Regions from separate parts of the Homo sapiens genome. Here regions 2 and 3 are each linked to region 1. The links are contacts of gene promoters, found by promoter capture Hi-C in blood cells and fetal thymus (Javierre and others, 2016). All regions are on one chromosome and are shown on one strand. Each heading gives the region's core, a stretch centred on a gene start or on the middle of the fragment in contact. The rest is flanking DNA. Distances are from core to core; before and after follow the strand shown.

Region 1 (3,477 bases), core at 494-2,993:
GTAAAGACCCTCAGCCAAAATATTAATTGATTGTTCTTGCTGGTGATTTATAAGATGCTGTTTAAAGTCCAGAACTCCCTGGGAGGCATGCTTCAGCAGTATGTCTATATTATTTCTTAAACATATGTAGATTGATGATTTGCATTTGGTTTACATGTTTACCCAGCCTGATTTAAGCTACGTAATGAGTGGGGTATACAAAATCCCTCTGTAAGCTGTGCCTTAGCTTCCCAAGACCAAGGGATTACACACATATCAAGAAGAAAGTGCTCTTTCTCATGATATAGAAATATTTCTTCATGTTACTGATAATGCAATAAAGTGTATATGCTTCTGAGTGATTTGCTAATGTGTATGTCAGCAACACATTCAGTATCCAGAATGGCTTGAAGTTATGCCTTCAGGGCCAAAAATAACATAATGTTAAATTCTGTAGATTCAATAACAGAATTTATTAAGAAATCTGCACTGTGAGGTAAATGATTAAACACTGACTCTTTCTCAACATTAGATAATTCTTTTTATTCATCAGAGAAATGTGATTTATGACACATTTAAAAGCATGTTTAAGGCCGGGCATGGTGGTGTATACCTGTAGTCTCAATTACGTGGGAGGCTAGGGTGGGAGGATTGCTTGAGCCTAGTAGTTCTAGGCTTCAGTGCGCCATGATCACACCTGTGAATAGCCACTGCACTCCAGCCTGGGCAACATAGCAAGATCCCATCTCTAAAAAGAAATTTTGTTTTAAAGCATGTTTAAAACATACATACACCAGCCTGGCCAACATAGTGAAACCCTGCCTCTACCAAAAATACAAAAATTAGCTGGGCGTGGTGGCACGTGCCTGTAATCTCAGCTACTCGGGAGGCTCAGGCAGGAGAATTCCTTGAACCCGGGAGACAGAGGTTGTGGTGAGCTGAAATTGTGCCACTGTGCTCCAGCCTGAGCAACAGAGGGAGACTCTGTCTCAAAAAACAAACAAACAAACAACAAAAAAACCATACATAGAAATGTTCCAGTAGAATACAAAGAACCACTTTCTAGAACTGAATGCACCAGAGAGGATTAGAAACCCACTTATTCTCTCCCAGCTTCAAGTATTTAACGTTCCTACTTTTGCACGTGGCAGCCTTGCTGACTCAGATCCGAGGGCGTTGAAAGACAGATTCACAATTTCTGGTCCATATTTGATGCAAATATTTAGAACTATCTAGCAGAGCTTGCTGCCTTTCCAACAATCCAGTTAGTGAATTGAGAATGTTCTCATTTAATAGAAATGAAAGGTAAACGAAGGATCCACCTGGCCATGGGACTGGAGGAATGACCCAAGCCATGCTTCATAGAGGCACAGATAGACACCCTCAGGGAAGCCGAGACCCTTTGAAAAAAGGGCCTGGTGTGTGTATTTTCACACTGCCCCCTGCTGGCTGACACTGGAACATTGATTCTTCCTGCTGACACTGGAACATTGATTCTCCTGTGGCTCTAAGACGACCTAACAGGATGAGGCCAGCGGGCCCCCCGCAAGGAAACTTGAGCTAGAGGCAGTTGGATTTGGCTGAGACGCTCTCCTCAGGGAAGGCCAGGTCTGGGAGTGGGTTTGAACAGCAGTGGAGAAATAACTTCCATAGGGCATGTCAGAGTAAGTTCTAGTGTTTCCAAGAGAATGGGACAGGATCTTAGTGGAATTTAGAAGCCAGGCAGGTGGAAAAGCATTGAGGACCCCATCCCAAGGGCTCGAGTCCCTAGAGACAGCCTGGAAAGATTGGGTGCCAGCTGCAGAGAGGAGAGCAAGGCGACCAAACGCAGGGTAAGGTCTGGAGGTGCTCATAGTTCACTACGGGACATGTACATGGAAGTGAATAATTATGTCACAAGGTGCCAAGGGGGCTAGTTACCTCACATAGGATCTTAGAAAAGGTCTCCTGGAGACCATGTCTGAGCTGGTCCTGAGGTGTGAGTAGGGATTCTCCGCAGGGCGGGGAAGGACTTGAAAGAGTCTGGCAATATGGAGCACATCAGGATTATGGAAGGTGAGCTTGGAGAACAAGGCAGAGTCTAGCCTGTGAAAGGCCTCTTGCAATTTGTTGAGGATCCATGACCTTCTCCCATGCATGGTGAAATGCCCTTAAAGGATTTTGAATAGATTTAAAAGACACTCAAAAACAAAAAACGGTAGATTCAAAATAGACGGTAGGGATCGCTTTCTTCCGTTTTCTTTGAAGGATCAGAAGTGTTTACCACCACCTGGATTGTTTTTGGGCTTTCAGGTGAGTGGGAAAACAAAGAAATTCATGCCTGATCATGTTGAGCCACTTATATAATGTTGCTTTGACACTAATGGAGATGTAACTTCTTTTAAGACATAATAGAATCTCCTAAGTGGGTGTGGGAGTCGTAAGAAGGAGGAATCTGGGCTTCTACAAGCAAGATAGCATGTATTCATTTATTCAGTCAGTCAGTCGCTGGATCGATGCGCTTAGCTTTGTGCTCTGTGCTGGGTGCTGTGTGGGATATAAAAGAAGGTGAGGCCGGGTGCGGTGGCTCATGCCTGTAATCCCAGCACTTTGGGAGGCCAAGGCAGGTAAATCATGAGGTCAGGAGATCGAGACCGTCCTGGCCAACATGGTGAAACCCTGTCTCTACTAAAAATACAAAAATTAGCTGGGCGTGGTGGTGTGTGCCTGTAATTCAGCTGCCTGGGAGGCTGAGGCAGGAGAATAGCTTGAACCAGGGAGTCGGAGGTTGCAGTGAGCAGAGATTGCACCACCGCACTCCAGCCTGGCAACAGACGAGACTCCGTCTCAAAAAAAAAAAAAAAAAAAAGAAGCTGAAATTCCAGCTCTTATCCCCCAAGGAATCTGTACATCTGTACTCTGCTTGGGAATCCACAGAAGAAGGAAAGAATGCCAGCAAAGTAAGATCATGCTGCATGACCTCAAGATAGATGTTAAGGACATTTTGATGGGATAAAGGGAATCTTTGCTAGTTCAGAGATGAGCTTTACTGGCTTTGAGCTAAGTGATAGACATAAGTGGGTGGAGTGCAACTGGGGAGAATTTCAGGCCTGGGTAAGGGCCAAGTGTGAATGGATGGTCTCATGTAGGAAGCCATCAGGATAGGCATAGCAAATCCAGGAGTCCTCTAACGATGGAAGGAAGACCTTTGCTGATGTAGGAATCGCATTGCAGGTCAGTACTCCTCAGTGAACCTGGAGACCCTGTTGCTTCCTGTTCCCTACCTCAAGGCACTCAGTCTTACAACTTTGGGCTACCTCTCTGAGACAGTAGACTCTGGAGATACTAGCCATATCTTCATCTTTAACATTCACTCAAGATGAGCTGATAAAGCACCTCTTTCATGAAATAGCCCTATAATTTCTATGATTAGAAGTTGAAACTACTCTCATCACATCTTTTGATGTTTATATGAACACTCTTCTGTTAAAAAAAAGATTGCCCTAGTTTTTAGGGCTA
Region 2 (3,477 bases), core at 394-2,893, 550 kb after region 1:
TAATCCATGTTGTTGCAAATATCCATTCCTTTTATTTATTGCTATATAGTATTCCATTGTGTGAGTGCACTGGAATTCATTCTACTGTTGATGGACATCTGGGCAGCTTCCAGTTTTTTAGCTGTTAGGGTCCATGTTACTGTGGACACATTGGTATATATGTTTGGTGAGCACCTGCACGCCTTTCTCTTGGGTGTATACCCAGGGGTGGGAACGCTGGCAAGCACATGGCCAGTTTTAGCTGACTCCGCCACAGTCCCCCAGTGTGGTCGTACCACACCCACTCTCTCCAGCAATGGCCTTAAGCTTTTTTGGTGGCACCAGCCTCTTCTTTTCATCATACAATAGAACGAGCCTACACCACGCAGTCAGACAGACTTCAGCTCATGTCTCGGCACCTCTGAGCAACCCTGGGCAAGTTACTTAACTTCTCTGAGGTTTCACTTGCCCACAGGAATAAATAAAGCCTGAGTTGGCATCACTGTCAAATCAGTATCACATTCACATGGCATAGTGCCAGGCAATTGGCACTAAGTGAATATTCTCTCCCTCCCTCTTACCCACCCATGAAGCTCCCTGAAGTGCAGTCACCAAGTAAACATTTCCAGACCTTTCACCCCACCATGGAGTCCTTTAAAATTCCTCTGCCTATACACTGAGAACCTATTTATCACTTTCTTCCCCGATACTTATGTGATGGGGCTGCTTGTCTCCATCCCACTGCAGTGGATGGGGAAATCCAACAACTGAGGAGTCAGAAGCAGACAGCAGACTATGAGTCATGGAAGGTAACAGGTAATAGAAGGTGGCTTCCATAAAGTGACCCTGGGCCAGGGAGGAGACAGACATGCTTTGACCAAAGTAAGGTCCAAATTTACATTGTCTGCTTATGTACCATTACAGAAAGATGTCCAAGACATATTGTGGGTTTTTTTGATTTTTTATTTGTTTTTCTGTTTGTTTTTGAGACAGAGTTTCACTCTTGTTGCCCAGGCTGGAGTTCAATGGCGCGATCTCGGCTCGCTGCAACCTCCACCTCCTGGGTTCAAGCAATTCTCCTGCCTCAGCCTCCCGAGTAGCTGGGATTACAGGTATGCATCACCACACCCGGCTTATTTTTTGTACTTTTAGTAGAGACAGGGTTTCACCATGTTGGCCAGGCTTGTCTTGAACTCCTGACCTCAGGTGATCCACCCGCCTTGGCCTCTCAAGGTGCTGGGACTACAGGTGTGAGCCACCGCGCCCAGCCTACAGGACATATTGTTAACTAAAACAAGCAAAATCAGGACAAGATGAATACTTTGGTGCTTTTGTATAAAAAGGAGGGAGAAGAGTGTTTTTATATTGACTTACATCTAGGAATGGATACCCCTAGGGCTGTGGGAGAGGCAACAGTGACTGGGGACACTGTGAGAGGGAACATTTCAGTGTATTGTATCCACGTGGACAGCTTTTGGGCTTAAACTACATGAACAGATCATCTATTCAGACAATTTTTCATATATAGGCTGGGCATAGTGGCTACGCCTGTAATCCCAACACCTTGGGAGTCCGAGGCGGGTGGATCACCTGAGGTCAGGAGTTTGAGACCAGTCTGGCCAATATAGCAAAACCCCAACTCTATTTAAAATAGAAAAATTAGCTGGGCATGGTGGTTCGTGCCTTAATCCCAGCTACTCGGGAAGCTGAGGCAGGAGAATCGCTTGAGCCTGGGAGGTGGAGGTTGCAGTGAGCCGGGATCATGCCACTGCACTCCAGCCTAAGCAACTGAGTGAAACTCCGTCTCAAAAAAAAAAAAAATTCATATATATATTTAGACATTTTTCAGTTATGCCAGCAGGTGGGTATGAATCCCTTGATATAAGCTCCATGAAGATTTCTGGCAGATCAACCCTGGCAAAGCAAAATGTCTGTGAGGTTTGTGCATGTAGGTGTGTGTGCGTAAGTGGATGCAGGTAAGCATGTGTGTACGTGTGTCTGTGTGTTAGACATCTCCATCACAACCTACCAGCCTGGGCAATATAATGAGACACTCTCTCTACAAAAAAATAAAAATAAAAATTAGCCAGGCATGGTGGCACATGCCTGTAGTCCCAGCCACTCCTGAGTAAGGAGGATCATTTAAGCCCAGGAGTCTGAGGCTGCAGTGAGCCATGATCGCACCGCTGTCTCCAGCCTGGGCAACAGAGTGAGATGCTATTTCAATCAATCAATCAATCACCTGGGAGGAGGAAGGGGCTGTCATGTCCTGTCAAGGGCAGGGCCCTAAATGTCCATGAAGGGGACCTGACCTAAGCTCTTCATAACTTCTCCCCATCACCCCACCCTTCAACTCTGTAGAATTCAAATTTCATCACTAGAAATCTAGGATAACAAAATGACTAACTGTTCTTTAAGATGACTGGGGACAGTGTGAATGGGGACATTTTAGTGTATTCTTATATAGCTTTTGGGCTTAAACCACATGGACAGAGCCATGTGGATCTGAATTCAAATTTCATCACTAGAAATGTGGAGTAACAAAATGACTGTTCTTTAAGGTTCTGTGTGTGTGTGTATGTAGGTAGGTATATGTGTAGGGTAGAGAGGTGAGTGTATGTAGGTGTGTGTACCTGTATATGTCATGTGGGTTATGTGTAAGGTGTAGTGGTGAGTATATGTAGGTATGTGTACCTATATATGTGGGTGAGTATATATAAGGGGGTAGATGTGTCTTTTTACTCAGCAAAAAGAGAAGAAAAAGAAGTTTTTCTTTTTTAAAAGACATCTGTAGAGATGGGGTCTCACTGTGTTGCCCAGGCTGGTTTCAAGTTCCCAGGCTCAAGCAATCCTCCTGCCTCAGCCTCCCAAATTGGTGGGATTACAGGCATAAGCCACCATGTCCAGCCTAGGACCCTTTTCTAGATGCCTAGTATGTAAAGGAAAGTATTGATTGCTTTATATTTGGTGTGTGAATTATTCCTTAATACTGAGAAGCTTGACAGCTTACATGTAAAGGATTACAAATAACACCTTCTTTTATTTTTCTGAGACAGGGTCTCACTCTGTCACCCAAGCTGGAGTGCAGTGGTGCAATCATGGCTCACTGCAGCCTCAGACTCCTGGGCTCAAGTGATCCTGCCACCTTAGCCTCCCAAAGTGTTGGGAGCACTGAACCCAGCTGACGAGAAGAAAAATCTATTCCCCAATAAATGGCAGGCCTTAGGATATTCCCCCTGTCAAAAAATAAAGCCCAGAATGACCATCTGCCCAGAGGTTCAAAAGAAGGCCACCCCAGGGGCCAGACCCACAGCCCAGTGGACAGGTGACGCTAATTAACAATGAACAAGCCAGGTGCGGTGGCTCACCCCTGTAATCCCAGCACTTTGGGAGGCCAAGGCGGGTAGATCACCTGAGGTCAGGAGTTCAAGACCAGCCTGGCCAAGATGGTGAAACTACAAAAATACTAAAAATACAAAAATTATCCAGGCGTGGTGG
Region 3 (3,477 bases), core at 343-2,842, 510 kb after region 1:
ATCATGACTCAAATAGGACAGAAGGTGACAAGTACCATGAGGCATAACAGAGCAAGCTGAGCCAGACAGGGAGCACAGGGTTAGGGGATATTGCAATTGTGAATACGAAGTCAGTGTGATCTCATCACAAAGGTGAGGGTGTGAGCCACATGGATATTGGAGGAAGAAAATTCTGGGGAAAAAGTGCAAAGGGCCAAGGTGGGTGTGCATCTGGCATGTCCAAAAAGCAACAGGGAAGGCAATGTGGCTGGAACAGAGTAGGCGAGGGAAGGAGAGGAGAGGAGAGATTTGGGGGGACATGTTGAGCTGTGTAGGTCATAGGCTCTTGCTAGGAGGAGGCAGAGGAGCTGTTGGAGGGTTCTGAGCAGAGGAGTGACGTGACCAGTCTTTTCAGTCTTTCTAGCTGCCAGGGTGAGAAAAGATTCAGGGGGCAGGGGCACAAGCAGTGAGGGGGCTGCTGGATTCATCAAGGCAAGTGATGATGGTGTCTCAGACAGGGTGGGAGGGCGCATTGAGGGTGGGTGGTTGAGTTCCAACCTCGTCTCCTTCCTCTCTGCCCTCAATCACTGCATTCTGTCCACACCAACCTCGTCATCGTTCTACAAACATACCGGAGCCACCTCAGGGCCTTTGCACTTGCCGTTTCCTCTGCTGGAATGTTCCTCCCCAGATCTCCACACACCTCATTCACTCACTTCATTCAGCTCTTTACTCAAATGTCACATTCTCATCAGGACTTTCCTGGCCACCTTATCCAGAATTTATACCACCACCCCTAGCCACATATCACAAGCACACTCGCCCCCATCTTCCTTCCTGCTTCATTTTTTTCTCCTTAGTATACCTTTACTCTTTGATACCTTTACATTTTCCTTGTTTATCCTGTTTATTTCCTGTCTTCCCCAGTGAAATGTAAGCTTCATGAGGACAGGATAAGTGTGAGATCCACTAGACTCCCAAGTGGAGATGTCTAGGAGGCAGCTGGATCTATGAGTCTGGAATTAAGGAGAGAGGTCTGAGCTGTAAAGTCAATATTTAACACCATGAGCCTAGATGACACTGATAGGAGAATGCAAAGACAGGAAACTGCAAGACTAAATGAGGCGCTCCTACATTTAGCAGTGAGGATGTGAGGAAGGAGCAGCAAGGAAACTGACAAGGAGTAGGAAAAACCAAGAGACTGTCATCCGGGAAGCCACAGATGAGATGAGTGGCACCCAGGAGGATGAGGGCAGTGTCTACAGGTTGAGGGCCTGGGAGGGGTGGAACATGTGGGGCAAAGCAGCAGAGCAGAGTGAGGTCAGGTGGGGACAAGGAGACTGTAGGTGAGGGCTGGAGACGTGGAGAGAAGAAGGTGGTGGCCAGGGAGCCAGCAAAGGGGCAGCAGCTGTAACCAAGGCAGGCTTGTGGGTGGCTTAAGGATCGAGGGCTCCACCATACAAGTAGGGACACTAACCTTGGGTAGGAGGAGCGATCCCTTCCTTACCAAAGAAGATGAGAGGTGCAGAAGGCTGGGCGAGTGCCTAGTTTCTGTGGCCTCTGCTTTCCCTGTGAAACAGGAGGTAAGATCAACTGCTCTGGAGAAGAAGGGGCAGGCTGCAAGGCTTGGAAAGAGGGGTAAAGATTTGGTATAGGAAAGGTTACACTGTAGGTAACTATATGTTCCCTCTCTATTTCACCATTTAAGGCTAAACTCCTCACACCGTGCTTGGCACGTAGTAGGTGCCTCATACATTCTTGGACTCTTTGTATCACACCTTGCACCTCATCCATTACCAACTCCTTTAGGCTGCCAAATCCCCCCAACTTTGCACTACCTCCTTAATGCCACCTTGATCAACACTTCCATCATTGTCTACCTGCGATGCAGTAAAGAGCCGGTAAAGGAAAAGGGAGAGAGCTGGCAGAGGACAGGAGCCTAGATCACTGGAAATATGGGACATAGAGCTGAGGTCAAAGACCCCAAGCGTGTTCAAGGAGCGACTAAATTGCTCCAGAGTCAGGATCTGGCTGGATGAGTCTCCCTACATCCAGAAGGATGAGGGGGTTGGTGGAAAAGAGAACAGTTAAGGTGCTGGTGAGTAGGAGTCTCAGCTAAGCAGAGAAGGAGGAATCCAAGGAGCTGGCAGGAGGTCAAAGTACAGATAAGGAAGAGAGAGAAAAGACAGGAAGTTGCACTCAGTGGCTAATGGATTTTAAGTGAAGAAATGAAATGCTCAGGCTTATATTTTAAAAGGATCCCCAGCTGTGTACAGAGAGCAAGCTTCGGAGCCGGGGGCGGGCACAAGGCAGGAGCAGGAAGGCCGCTTAGAAAGGCACTGCAGGGGCCAGGAGCAGTGGCTCACGCCTGTAATCCCAGCACTTTGGGAGGCCAAGGCAGGCGGATCACCTGAGGTCAGGAGTTCAAGACCAGCCTGGCCAACATGGTGAAACCCCCATGTCAAAAAAAAAGAAAGAAAGAGAAGAAAGAGAGAGAGAGAAGAAGGAAGGAAGGAAGGAAGGAAGGAAGGAAGGAAGGAAGGAAGGAGGGAGGGAGGGAGGGAGAGAGGGAAGGAAGGAAGGAAGGAGGGAAGGAAGGAAAGAAAGGCACTGCAGGTAGACAACGATGGTAGCCTGGACCAAGGTAGTAACATGAAGGTGATACAAAGAAAGTCGAGGGGACTTAGGGGCCAACAGGAGTTGGTGATGGATGAGCTGCAAGGTGCGATACACAGAAAAGAGTCCAAGAATGTATCAGGTACCTACTAGATGCCAAGTGGTAGGAAGAGCTTAGCCTTTAAAGGTGAAATAGACAGGAAACTGATCGTTACCTATAGTGCTTTAGGCACTTAAAAGGGAGAGTGATGTGCTGCGGGTGGGAGGAGAGTAAAATAGCTCAGCTGGGTCAGGAGCGAGTGGTGTAAGAGAGACTTCAGAAGGAGATGCCACTGGAGCTAGCACTACCAGATATAGAGGAAGGGCATTCCAGGATAATCATGTGCAAGAGCCCAGAGGCAAGACTGGGGAGCCCCTTGTGGCCAGAGTGCAAAGTGAGTCAGCCTGGCCACTTGGCTGTTGCACATGAAGACAGAGGACTGCAGAGAGACATTGGAGCCACAAAAGAACAAGGCCTGTGAGCCAAGTGCCCATGCTCAGGGGTCTTGGGGCAGTTCCCCATTTCACACTCATGGTATGCCACGGAGAGGAAAATGCCCAGTTGTCTTTCTGACTTCCAGAGATCCCTGCATGAGGCTGTGGGCCCATGAGAGAATGCTGAGGGGTGCAGTCAAGAGAGTGGGCAAGTGCAGGGCGGTGTAGGTGGTGGATTGGAGCACTGTGGGCAGAGGCAGGTGTGAAATTCAAACCGGCATCTGTGAGCGGAACAGGAGAAGTCTCTTGAGAGCCGCTGCCTGCGGAATCTGGAGCCCAATGCACAGATTGTTTGTATTTCCAGGCAACATGTCTGCATGCAGTGGGCAGAGAACACATAAAACAAAG

The links. The method cuts DNA at HindIII sites, captures the fragments that hold promoters and counts their contacts. A CHiCAGO score of 5 or more calls a contact.
Region 2: a fragment that was not itself captured here is called in contact with the fragment with the promoter of PRNT in region 1 in 1 of 17 cell types (M0 macrophages); the score reaches 5.3 in M0 macrophages.
Region 3: a fragment that was not itself captured here is called in contact with the fragment with the promoter of PRNT in region 1 in 4 of 17 cell types (M0 macrophages, M1 macrophages, megakaryocytes and 1 more); the score reaches 8.7 in M0 macrophages.

Annotation. Positions count from the first base shown.
Region 1 is chr20:4,738,934-4,742,410 of GRCh38, reverse strand. It overlaps PRNT (prion locus lncRNA, testis expressed), which reads left to right and starts at 1,743. Exons shown (of 2, transcript NR_024269.1): 1 at 1,743-1,811. The HindIII fragment of the contact is 12,166 bases long and covers 1-3,477 here.
Region 2 is chr20:4,188,264-4,191,740 of GRCh38, reverse strand. No RefSeq gene overlaps it. Among named protein-coding and RNA genes, the nearest start is that of LINC01433, 3.1 kb to the left of the region's middle. The HindIII fragment of the contact is 2,670 bases long and covers 309-2,978 here.
Region 3 is chr20:4,226,755-4,230,231 of GRCh38, reverse strand. All of the region lies in intron 1 of ADRA1D (adrenoceptor alpha 1D), which reads left to right. Among named protein-coding and RNA genes, the nearest start is that of ADRA1D, 21 kb to the left of the region's middle. The HindIII fragment of the contact is 1,346 bases long and covers 920-2,265 here.